Regions from separate parts of the Homo sapiens genome. Here region 2 is linked to region 1. Evidence: promoter capture Hi-C in 16 types of primary human blood cells and fetal thymus (Javierre and others, 2016). All regions are on one chromosome and are shown on one strand. Each heading gives the region's core, a stretch centred on a gene start or on the middle of the fragment in contact. The rest is flanking DNA. Distances are from core to core; before and after follow the strand shown.

The links. Contacts are between HindIII fragments. The CHiCAGO score rates a contact against its expected background, and 5 or more counts as called.
Region 2: a fragment that was not itself captured here is called in contact with the fragment with the promoter of BCAP31 in region 1 in 1 of 17 cell types (monocytes); the score reaches 6.1 in monocytes.

What each region holds. Positions count from the first base shown.
Region 1 is chrX:153,719,172-153,725,636 of GRCh38, reverse strand. It overlaps BCAP31 (B cell receptor associated protein 31), which reads left to right and starts at 1,250. Exons shown (of 8, transcript NM_001256447.2): 1 at 1,250-1,303; 2 at 2,349-2,484; 3 at 4,665-4,765. The coding sequence starts at 2,393. It overlaps ABCD1 (ATP binding cassette subfamily D member 1), which reads right to left and starts at 781. Exons shown (of 10, transcript NM_000033.4): 1 at 1-781. The coding sequence starts at 370. RefSeq lists an enhancer at 1-161 and silencers at 622-1,581, 1,792-1,971. The HindIII fragment of the contact is 9,880 bases long and covers 1-3,228 here.
Region 2 is chrX:154,769,433-154,775,819 of GRCh38, reverse strand. DKC1 (dyskerin pseudouridine synthase 1) reads right to left here. Exons shown (of 15, transcript NM_001363.5): 10 at 4,941-5,061; 11 at 2,571-2,689; 12 at 1,115-1,218; 13 at 547-625. It overlaps SNORA56 (small nucleolar RNA, H/ACA box 56), which reads right to left and starts at 822; the gene lies at 694-822. The HindIII fragment of the contact is 1,797 bases long and covers 1,406-3,202 here.

The DNA.
Region 1 (6,465 bases), core at 1-2,500:
GGACGATGCAGCGGGCCAGCCTTCCGTCCAGGCGGGCCACATACACCGACAGGAAGGTGCGGCTCACCAAGGCGGCCGAGTGCAGGGCCAGCAGCCCCGTCTCCCGGCACAGGACCCGGGGGAACAGCAGCCGCAGGAGCCACAGGAGCCGCTGCAGGAATACCCGGTTCATGCCAGCTTTGGCCGCCGCGACCCCGGAGGCCTCCTGCGTGGGCTCCCCGGCGGGCGCCTGAAGACCCCTGGCCGGGGCCAGGCACTGGCGCACCAAGGGGTAGACTTTGTGGGCTCCATAGGCCGCGAGGGCCAGGAGCACGGCCGTGCGCTTCAGCGTGTTCCCCCGCCAGGGCCGGGGCCTGGAGAGCACCGGCATGTCACCTGGGCTGGCTGCCGCGTAGGGACTGGGGCTGGTGCCTGGGGCAGCAGTTGAGGCAGGTGGCTGGAAGGATTGTTGCTCTGACCCTGGGCCTGTTGTCTAGGCAACTGGAAACCTTGCGATGGCCCCTGAGACTGTCGCTTTAGGCCCCCGGGGTGGTGCTGGGGCCCCTGGTGCGGTGGGCTCAGGGCCCTCCAGGGTCGCGGCCTCTTCGGGCAGCCCAAGTGGAGGAACTTGGCTCTCCTGTCCTGTCAGTGCCCTGGCCCCTGAGGTCAGGGCCTTGAGAGGTCTCGGGCAGAGGGGGCGTCTCTTCCTCTCCACCTTCTCCTCCTCCTCCTCCCCCGGTGGCGCCCCTCCCCGGGGCACCAGGCGCGTCCGTCCGCTCCGCAGCCTGGCTGAAGCGACAGTGACTCCTCCACCGGCCCAGAATCCCCACCCACTCTTCCCCAGGGGCGAGTCGGGGGAAGGGGAGGAGGCGGAGGAGGGGCGAGGGGCGGAGTCCGGGCGCGGGAGCCCCACCCTGTTCTCGCCCCTCGGCGGGGCCCGCCCACACCCCCACCTCCCGTTCTCGCCCCTCGGCGGGGCCCCTCCCGCACCACAGAGACGTGGGACGGCCGCGCGGACTAGAGAAGCGGCCCTCGCCGGCCCGACAAAGCCCCGCCCCGCCCCGCCCGCGTGCTCGCTCCACCCCGCCCTGCTCGCCCGGAGCCCGAGGCGCCTCTTCCTCTCCCGCTCGGAGCGCCGGCCCTCCGCTCCGGGGCGGGGTGGGAAGCGGAGGTGGGCGGAGCCTCCGGGGCCTCGCGAGGGCTGGTGGGCGGTGCCCGGCGGGCGCTTCCGGTTTCCGGCCGCGGTATGAGGGGCGGGGCCGGGGCTGCTGTGGGAGAGTTCTGTTGCTGCGGCGGGGCCTGCACGTTGACTGTGGGAAACTCGGTGAGCGGGCTCCGCGCGCCGGGCTGGGCTCCGGGACCGCGGAGGCTCCCCGGCCCATCGACGAGGGAGAGAGGCGAGCGGCGCGGGGAGGCCCGGGGGCCGGGGAATCTCGGGGCCCGCAGCCTACCTGCGTGTGAGAGGCAGGGGCGAGGGGAAACCGGGCGGCGCCTCTAGAAGCTGGTCTCGGGGGCGGGGCGGGGGGCGGTGAAGCCCCACCTGGAGGAGCGGCCGGGATGGGCCTCCGGGACGGTGTGCCAGGCCGGGGCCAAGTCGGAGGCCCCTCGCTCTGGGTGGGCGCTGGGGCCCGCGAGGGCTACTGTAAGGACCCCTGGCTTCTGAGGATACTGCGTCTAGAACTTTCTCCGTATGGGGCCTTGAGGTGCTTGGTCGAGACCTGCCTTTGCGCTTGGTCCCGAATCCTGCCCTCTAGGAGTCGCTCTTGCGGGCCTCCAGCCCACCGGAGGCGAAGCGGCCCCGGGCGGAAGGCCGCTGGATCCTCGAGGGAGGTGCCGGTTTCTCTCCGCGGGCGCCGTGGGGACGGTGGGAGGCGGGGGCGTCGGCAGCGCTTGGACTAGGTGCGGCCTTGGGCCTGCCTGGTAGCGGGGATTTGGGCCCGCAGAGCGCCCGCCTCTGCGGCTGAGTTCTGCCTGGCGGGGAAGGGAGCGCCCGATGGGTGCCGAGGCGTCCTCCTCTTGGTGCCCTGGCACTGCTCTTCCCGAAGAACGCCTTTCAGTTAAACGGGCGTCGGAAATCTCGGGCTTCCTGGGGCAGGGATCGTCGGGAGAGGCCGCTCTGGACGTGTTGACACACGTGCTGGAGGGGGCAGGTAATTGACCAGCGAACGGAAGTTTGTGGGGCCTGTGAACGCTGCTGGCCAAGAGGCCCTGCCGAGTGGAGCCCTGCTTCCGCCAGCGCATCAGAGACTTTGAAGCAAAGTGCAGGGGGTCAGGGTGGAGAGTGGCGGCCCCAGCCTCGCAGGGTAACTGAACTGGATGTTCTTGGCTGCCCAGCGCTTACAAGTCCCGTACCTTTTGTGCCCTGCCAGGAAACAAGCTCACATCTTCCTGTGGGAAACCTTCTAGCAACAGGATGAGTCTGCAGTGGACTGCAGTTGCCACCTTCCTCTATGCGGAGGTCTTTGTTGTGTTGCTTCTCTGCATTCCCTTCATTTCTCCTAAAAGGTATGGCCTATGGAGCAAGCAGGCGAGTTAGGCAGGAGGGTGCCTGTGCCCTAGCCCTGGGACTGGTGTGTGCAGCTGGTGGACCCTGGAATTGGGACCCGATGGAACAGGTAGAACCTGTCTGGGGTGGGGGTGGCAGGGGTTGTGTTTGTTATTGCCAACCCTTCCCAGGGTTCTGCTTCGTCATGACTTGCTCAGTTCCTTTTCCTGTGTCCCCTGCCTTCTGGTCTTCAGAATGCCCCCGAGAGGCAGGAAGATCTATGTTACAGTTCTGGAAATGATGCCCTCCCACCCACTCTTGGTCCACGGGGTGCTGGGATGGTAGCGTGGGATTCGGAAGACTTGCACCACTGGGTCACGTTGTTGCTGATTTGGTGACTCTTGTCCTCCTAACTAGTCTCACTGGTATTGCGCAGTGGCTGCATGAACATTACTCAGCCTGTGGAGGATGAAGCCATATTCCCTTTTAATGAACAGAGGACCTGTTAAAAGTGAATTGGAGATTAATTTTAATTATGTATAATACCTGAACACATCCCTATTTAAATTACGATATTACAAATAAGGCCAAATCTCCACAGGTATTTTTAAAAGCCGTTTTTTCGTGAAAAATTATCTTTGATGTGATACCATAGAAAGTATGCAGTGCTGTCTGAGGAGGATTCTTGTAGAAAACCACACCTTCGTACAGTTGACAAGACGTGCAGAGATAGAGGGCCCCGGGGAGCTTTAATCTGGGAAGCTTTAGAGGACAGACAATCTGATTTCTACACAAAGGAAACTGGAAAAGCAAATGAAAGAGGGAGAGGGAAGGGGGAGCTTCCAGAATAAGCTGGATTTAAGACGTTTATCTACCGAATGCCAAATCGGTACCTTGTTGGGTCCGGATTCAAACAAATATCATTGCCTTCAGTGATTGGCATATTCAACTCTAGCCCTGATGATGAGGGCTTCTTGTTGATTTGAACAATATGTAAACACTTCTGAAGTCTCTTCTTAGAGCTGCATCCCAAAGCATTTGTGGATGGAAATGATGTGAGGTCTGGGGTCCATCTCATCATAACAGGGTCGGGGGATATAGACAAACCAAGGTTTATCATGTGGAAAGACAGTTTAAAGAAATAACGTGTATGGGGCAAACATTTGAATATTACAAAGGGGAGTACAATGAAAAGTAAGTTTCCCTTTTCAGAGACTACCAGTATGTTTTCTTTTTGTTGTTGTGGTTTTTTTGTTTGTTTTTGTTTTTATTTTGAGACAGAGTCTTGCTCTGTCACCCAGGCTGGAGTGCAGTGGTGTGGTGCTCGGCTGACAGCAGCCTCCACCTCCCGGGTTCAAGCAATTCTCCTGCCTCAGCCTCACGAGTAGCTGGGACTACAGGTGCCTGCCAACATGCCCAGCTAATTTTTTTTTATATATATATTTTTAGTAGAGATGGGAGTTCACCATGTTGGCCAGGCCGGTCTTGAACTTCTGACCTCAGGTGATCTGCCCATCTCAGCCTCCCAAAGTGCTGGGTTTACAGACGTGAGCCAGTGCGCCCAGCCAACTGCCCACGTTTAAGATTAGTTTTCCAGGCTGGGCGCGGTGGCTTACACCTCTGCACTCCAGCCTGGGCAACAGAGCAAGACTCTGTCTCAAAAAAAAAAAAAAAAGATTAGTTTTCCAGACATTTTGATCTATACGTGGACCAGCATCTTTTTTTTTTTTTTTTTTTGAGACAAGGTCTCGCTCTGTCACCCAGGCTGGAGTGCAGTGGCGCGATCTCGGCTCACTGCAACTTCCGCCTCCCAGGTTCAAGTGATTCTCCTGCCTCACCCTCCTGAGTAGCTGGGATTACAGGTGCCCACCACCACGCCTGGCTAATTTTCGTACTTTTAGTAGAGACAGGGTTTCGCCATGTTGGCCAGTTTGGTCTTGCACTCCTGACCTCAAGTGATCCACCCACCTTGGTCTCCCAAAGTGCTGAGATTACAGGTGTGAGCCATTGCACCTGGCCTTTTTTCCAATAGTCTTGAATGGATGTCAAATTAGAGAATTGCAAGCCACTGAGGCTGACTTTGCATGGGCTATTCGGCCATTGGAGAAGAGTACAAAGCTGGATTTCCATTTTGCTCAGGGCCCTAGAGCTCGTGTGTGTGCTTTCTCTTCAACTCCTGTCCTTTTTGTCTTCTTCACAGATGGCAGAAGATTTTCAAGTCCCGGCTGGTGGAGTTGTTAGTGTCCTATGGCAACACCTTCTTTGTGGTTCTCATTGTCATCCTTGTGCTGTTGGTCATCGGTGAGTGAGCTATGGCTGAGGGCAGCTACCTGACCTAGACCCTGGTCTCTGCTGCAAAACCCTTTGCCACTTTTGATGTGTAGCATCCAGTTTTGGCTGCTAGGAGACAGACCAATGAAATGCTGTGTCTTTCTCTTGAGGGAGGGAAGAGGCTCCCTTTGCCCATGCTGCTGACCGCTAGTCGGTTCTTCACTTTGAGGCCCCTCTAGGCCGTACATGGTGGCTCATGCCTGTAATCCCAGCACTTTGGGAGGCTGAGGTCGGTGGATCACCTGAGATGAGGAGTTCGAGATCAGCCTGGCCAACGTGGTGAAACCCCATCTCTACGAAAAATACAAAATTAGCTGGGCGTGGTGGCGGGCACCTGTAATCCCAGCTACTTGGGAGACTGAGGCAGGAGAATTGCTTGAACCCACGAGGCAGAGGTTGCAGTGAGCCTAAATCGCACCATTGCACTCCAGCCTGGGCAACAAGAGGGAGACTCCATCTCAAAAAAAAAAAAAAGAGGCCCCTCTAGCAGTGGGCGTGGGCTTATACCAAGCAGTTTGTATGCAGCTTATGACGGCCACCTTACATTGCTTTTTTTCAAGACCTTGGAAGGAGGGACGCCTAAGGTTTCTGAGGCTGCTCCTCAGGTCACTCTAGAACTGAAGCCAAGAGAAGCTAACTGGCCTGTGACCTTGGTCTGAGTAGTGCTGCTCACCAGTCACTTAAACAGCAGAATTGCCTGGAGCAGGGCCTCTAATGGGGGACTGAGCAACCAAGCACACAGTGAAGTCCTGCCATTCCCTGTAGTAGTAGGAGGAGAACACAGAGATGTGTGGCAGCATATCTTGGGGAGAGATCCTAGACCTCTCTGCATCTGGGCTAGACTTGAGGTTTTCCCAGGTCGTTCCAGCTCTGTAGTTCTGTAAACTCTGACATTGAGGTGTACACTAGCAGGTGCTTGAAAGATAAACTGGTCCAAGGGCAAGCAGGCTCTGGGATAAGGCCAGGCCAGGTGGTGGTAAGATGAAAGGCAGACATTTTGCAATGAGGTGGTAGGGTGACCATCTGGAGACAAGAATCAATAAAGCTCTTGTCTGACTGGTAGATGTTTGTTGTTTTGCTGTGGTAAGTGATCGATATGTCCCCCTGTTTGGGCTCCAAAGTATTGGCTTGGCTCTGCTGTGGACACCACTCTTGTCTCAGAGCTGTGGTGCCTGCCTAGGCGTGGAACACTCCTCCCACCGAGTCCCAGCAGAAACACTGAGCGGGTGGGGGGCTGTGGTTCAGGGGAATGTGCAAAGCCTCACCCACCAGCTTCAGCATTAGGCATTTCTCCTTCCTGATGTCTCAGAGCCTGATAGGATATGTTCAGGCTGGACTGCCTCTGAACAGGCCAAGTGTTACCTGACAGCTTCCAACCACATAGGGTAGGTGCCAGCTGCCTGAGCACCTCAGTGTTCTTGAAATACTTGGCAAGGCCCCAAGAGGTAGTAGCTCTTTCTAACCAGGGTTCTCGCCCTGAGCAGCCTCCAAGCCAGGAGTAGGTAGGTAATATATGTGTCATCCCCAGGCCACTGAGTTTTTGAACTGAGCATGTGTGTTTTGGCTTTTGGGTCTGGGGTGGGGGTAATAACTGGGGAGGGGAGGGACCATGCTGAGGATGATTCCCTCAGGGTCTTGCCCCTTCCCCAAACCAGAAGGAGTATGTTTCT
Region 2 (6,387 bases), core at 1,055-3,554, 1.0 Mb before region 1:
CAGTACCGCCCCCGGTTTCTGAGTGCAGACCTGTCATTCTGTGCTCTAATGCCAGCAGCTCCATGGGGTGGAGTTGCCAACCCATGCTTGACTGACTCTTTCAACACTGGGTGGTGCCAGGTTAAGATGCAATTCTGCTCTCTGCTGAATTTTGTATGGCCTCGAATGTCCAACAGCCATGGCCTCTGATTTCAACACATCTGTCCTACCATTTGACCCAGGGCGGGGGCCAGAATTGACACACACACCACCACCCATTCCATCACTGTGTTGCTGCCATAGCTGAGGTAGGAGTCGAGGCCCATCTGATTCCTGAGCCCACATTCCTCCTCCCAGCAGATAGGACAGAGAATACAAATCAGAGGAGCCTGCAGAGCCCAAACAAGCACCCCAGGGTATGAGGCAGCATTACCTGTGTATGCGCTGCACCTCTGATGCTAGCGTATATGGCTGGACTGCGGACAGTCACAAAGTAAGACGAATGCCAGTGCCTCTTAGGATTATCTCCCTAAGCACATTCCAAACTGAGGACAGCATGCCACTCACCTTCGCAGTTTTTGCTGCTTCGGCAACTACCTGCGGGGCTTTTACCACTTCAGCAACCACCTCTTTTTTGGCAGACTCACTGAAAAAGAGGTAGCAATAGGTCAAATTCACTGAATGGCTTTCCAGGGCAGTACTGATGTTATGTAGTGTTATCTGGCAAGTCTAAAGCCACCATCAAAATACTGACGCTGGACAGAAGAACTCACCACTTACTGTTGCAGACTGACTCCCTCTAGAGTCCCACGAGCCAGACTAGAAAGGGATAACTGTCTGCCGTGCAGGCCCACACCCCTAACTGGCCTGGGCAGCCAAAATCTCACGGGAGCTGAAGAGCTGGTTCCTGTGGTCCTGCATTTAGCAAGTTTGCCCCAAACCAAGTGACTCCCCCTCCCCTGGGCTCTACAACCTCCATGCTCACCTGTTCCTCACCTGTTGTCCATGTACTCCTGCGTCCAGATGGCAAGTGGGCTCTACCTTCCCATCCTCACCTGTTGTTGACATACTCCTGCATCAAGGCAGCAAGTGTGCCGTCTCTACCCACCCCGGCTCTGAAACATCCTGCCCTCACCTGTAGTCAACATACTCCTGCTTCCAGGTGGCAGGTGTGCTGTCTGTGGGCTTCCCATGCTTGTCCAGAAGGCCCTGCTTGATCATCAGCTTCTTCTGACTTGCCTGGTGGAACATCAAGGTGTCAACATTAGAATGGTGTCAATGCTGGAAGCGGGCATGGTGACTACAAAGAATAGAACAAGGTTCCTCCCTGGTGTATTCTCAGCAGGGCCTCAAACTCCTCTCCAGAGCATTCAGAATTTGCCCACTAACTCCAACACACACAGGACTTGTTGAAGATCACAAAGCTTATTAGTGAGAGCCTCTGCAGACATAACGTCCCCACCGCAGCCACTCTACTTTTTTGCCTTTGCACATGCTGCTTGCTCCCAATGCCCTGAACTCTCCCCTCCCCTCTTCACTTCACCAACACCTAACCCACTCTTCACACCGGTGTGGCTTAACAGACAATCCCTTGACCAGACTCCTTGACCACTGTGGACACTCCAGGTGACAGACACCTCTCTGCACTCCTTGGTAGCCACTAACGTGCATGAAATTCGCCATTCCACTGTGTGATTACGTGAGTAATGCCCAACTGTTTCCCCTCATTAGACTGAAATCTCTAAGGCCCAAGACAGGGCCTGTTTCCACTCATCGACAACCCAGAGCCCAGCACAATACAAGGCTGTGGTGGTGAAACACACCAAGAGCTGCCCAAGTATTCAACAATGCCAAACAAAAGAACCTGGCAGGAGCCGCCCCATCCGGGAGGGAGGTGGGGGGGGGTCAGCCCCCCCGCCCGGCCAGCCGCCCCGTCCGGGAGGTGAGGGGCGCCTCTGCCCGGCCGCCCCTACTGGGAAGTGAGGAGCCCCTCTGCCCGGCCGCCACCCCGTCTGGGAGGTGTGCCCAACAGCTCATTGAGAACGGGCCAGGATGGCAATGGCGGTTTTGTGGAATAGAAAGGCGGGAAAGGTGGGGAAAAGATTGAGAAATCGGATGGTTGCCGTGTCTGTGTGGAGAGAAGTAGACATGGGAGACTTTTCATTTTGTTCTGCACTAAGAAAAACTCTTCTGCCTTGGGATCCTGTTGATCTGTGACCTTACCCCCAACCCTGTGCTCTCTGAAACATGTGCTGTGTCCACTCAGGGTTAAATGGATTAAGGGCGGTGCAAGATGTGCTTTGTTAAACAGATGCTTGAAGGCAGCATGCTCCTTAAGAGTCATCACCACTCCCTAATCTCAAGTAATCAGGGACACAGACACTGCGGAAGGCCGCAGGGTCCTCTGCCTAGGAAAACCAGAGACCTTTGTTCACTTGTTTATCTGCTGACCTTCCCTCCACTATTGTCCCATGACCCTGCCAAATCCCCCTCTGTGAGAAACACCCAAGAATTATCAATAAAAAAATAAATTTAAAAAAAAAAAAAAAAAAAAAAGAACCTGGCAGGGCACGCAACCCAGTACCACTTACCTTTGGACCTAAACCCCACTTCCGAGGGTAAGTGTCTCTCTCCATGATCACTCTCTTGATCTTGGCTACTATACCATGGTCGCAGGTAGAGATGACCGCTGTGGTCATTAATGCAATAGCTACAGGCATTGAATAAAGAAAAGAATTATTTGAAGGGTGAAAGAATTGATAATTGATGAGCCCCAATTCTACTGTTGTATGCCACTTTAAAACTTTTAAAACTCTGAGCTACTACTTTAATTGGGGTTACCTTTGCTCAGGATGTGCATATGGAGGAAATACTCCATTATGAGAAGGAGGCCTTTGAAATGACGTTAAACTTCTGAAGTTAAAAAACACCTAACCAAAGCACCTAACGATACACATAACAGGCTTGCAGCTCAAGACGTCTATAAGAACGGCATGCACACTCCCTTTGGGGCCACAGAACCTTTGAAGTTTTAAGGATTCCTTTTCTGCTGCTGTCCATAAGCCGTGGCTGCCTTGCCTGCTCACAGAGCTAAGGAATCCTGATGACATGCTTACTTCTGGTACAAATTAGACCCATTAAATGAATAGCTCTAAGGTTCATTCACTAAGAGGGTGCGCAGAGCATTTAAAGTCTTAAGAGACAATCCAACAGTAGCTAAGCTTTCACAAGTTAAAAAACACTGGTACTTTACATGGAACCACAAAAGACTCAAAATAGCCAAAGCTATCCTAAGCAAAAAGAACAAACCTGGAGGAATCACATTACCTGACTTCAAATTATAGTATAGAGCTACAGTAACCAAAACAGTATGGTACTGGCATAAAAACAGGCACATAAACCAATGGAACAGAATAAGGAACCCAGAAACAAATGCACACACCTACATTTAACTCATTTTTGACAAAGGTGCCAAGAACATACACTGGGTAAAAACCAGTCTCTTCAATAAATGGTGCTGGGAAAACTAGATATCCATATGCATAAGAATGGGAGAAAATATCCGCAAACTACCCATCTGACAAGGGATTAATAACCAGAATATATAAGGAACTCAGCACTATAGGAAAAAAAATCTAATAATCTGATCAAAAAACAGGCAAAAGATTTGAACAGACACTTCTCAAAAGAAGACAAATAAATGGCAAACAGGCATATGAAAAAGTGCTCAATGCTGATCACGAGAGAAATGCAAATCAAAACTACAATGAAATATCATTTCACTCCAGTTAAAATGGTTTATATCCAAAAGACAGGCAATGACAAGTGCTGGCAAGGATGTGGAGAAAAGGGAACCTTTGTACACTGTTGATGGGAATGTAAATTAGTATAACCACTATGAAGAACAGTTTGGAGGTTCCTCGAAAAACTAAATTGAGCTACCATAGGATCCAGCAATCCCACTGCTGGGTATATACCCCAAATAAAGGAAATCAGTGTTATCAAAGAGATCACAGTAGCCAAGATTTGGAAGCAACCGAAGTGCCCATCGACAGATAAATGGATAAAGAAAATGTGGTACATATACACGATGGATTACTATTCAGCCTTAAAAAAGAATGAGATCCTGTCATTTCCAACAACATGGATGGAACTGAAGATCGTTATATTAAGTGTAATCGGCCAGTCACAGAAAGACAAACATTGCATGTTCTCACTTATTTGTGGGAGCTAAGAATCGAAACAATTGAACTCATGGACAGAGAAGAGTAAAAGAATGGTTACCAGAGACTGGGAGGGTAGTGGGGGGCTGGCAGGGAGGTAGGGATGGTTAATGGGTACAAAAAAAAAAAAAATCAGGCCCGGCATGGTGGCTCACACCTGTAATCCCAGCACTTTGGGAGGGCAGATCACCTGAGGTCAGAAGTTCGAGACCAGCCTGACCAACATGACAAAACCCTGTCTCTACTAAAAATACAAAAAATTAGCCAGGTGTCATGGTGTGCACCTGTAATCCTAGCTACTCGGAAGGCTGAGGCACGAGAATCGCTTGAACCTGGGAAGCAGAAGTTGCAGTGAGCCGAGGTCACGTCTCTGCACTGCAGTCTGGGTGAAAAGAGCAAGACTGTCTCAAAAAAAAAAAAAAAAAAAAAACACCACCACCAAAAAACCAAAAGAATGAACAAGAAGAGTGAGACTATTTAATAGCACAACGGGGTGACTATAATCAATAATAACTTAAGTGTATATTTTAAAATAACTAAGGTGATAAATAACTAACAGTAAAATAGGATTGTTTGTAACACAAAGGATAAATGCTTAAGATGGATGCCCCATTCTCCATGATGTGATTATTATGTATTGCATGCCTGTATCAAAACATCTCATGAACCCCATAAATATATACACCTAGTATGTAACCACAAACATTTAGAATTTAAAAAATAAACATCCCCTCTTACCCATGCAGATTGCTTCTCCTTTGGTGGTGATAACCACAATCTCCTGATTGACCTCAATGCCGTCCTCATATCGAAGAACACCTGGAAGCATAATCTTGGCCCCATAGCAGATGGCATTTACCTGCAGAGATGGCACCAAGTGTAAGGGGCCCAGCTGCTGCCCTCCACCCCACTCCCACACCAGAGTAAAGGAGGACAACAAGGGAGTGGGGCCTGACACCAGGAAACAGGGATGACACTTATAGCCCACTAGCTGCAAGGGGCATGAGTGGTACTCAGAAGAGCCACCTCACTGTGCTATAGGTACCACTCTCCGCACATTACACACGACTCAAAAGTAGTAAAGAAGACTTTCAGGTTTTCAGGTTCTAGAGACTCACAAGTATTTTCTTTTTTTTTTTTTTTTTTTTTTAATTTTCAGGCAGAACCTCCCTCTGTTGTCCAGGGTGGAGTGCAGTGGCACATTCTCGGCTCACTGCAACCTCCATCTCCCAAGTTCAAGTGATTCTCAGCCTCCCAAGGAGCTGGGATTACAGGCACGTGCCACCACGCCCAGCTAATTTTTGTATTTTTAATAGAGACAGGGTTTCACCATATTGCCCAGGCTGGTCTCAAACTCCTGAGCTCAAGCAATTTGCCTGGCCCGGCCTCCCAAAGTGCTGGGATTATGGGTGTGAGCCACCGCACGTGGTCCATATTTTCATTTGAAACATAAAAATAGCCTTGGCATTCCTTAATTACTCCTCTCTCCTCCTTATGAGGAGAAAGAACAGATTTACTGGAGATCCAGGCAATAACAGGCTCTTAAAGAACTTGAAAACAAGATTACTGAGCCCTGTTGAACCAATCACACAAAAGTCTTGGTGCAGAATTTATAGGTCAGTGGGTACAAGTTAAGGCTACCTCTCCAGAGGTTCAATGGTACCCAATGCACCCATCTGCCTCATACCATCTCCACTCACCTAGACCTCTTTTGATCACATTCTCCCCTCCCTTTACATTCACCCAGAAGCCAATGGTTTGATAAGGAGAGGACATCACATTTATGTTGTCCACTGTTTTGTGACTGAGTTTTTTCAACTATTATGGTGCCATCTTTCAGTATTTATTACAGCCTATACACATACAAAAAATGTGAACATCTATACAAGATTTGAATATAAATAATTACCAACTACAAACATTTTAAATATCCAGAAATTTTTATCCCTCAAGTTAGAGAAAAAGACAATGTTTTAATTTATAAAAGGCCAACTCTCTGATCATCATAAAAACACAGCTCACAGCCTTGATCTCCTGGGCTCAAGCTGGTCTCAAACTCCTTCCTGGACTCAAGTGATCCTCTTGCCTCAGCCTGCCAAAGTGCTAGGATTATAGGCATCAGCCACTGTGCCTGGCCTAATGTGCCTTATTTTTAAGTATGCCTACCATTAAACTTTTACTTTAA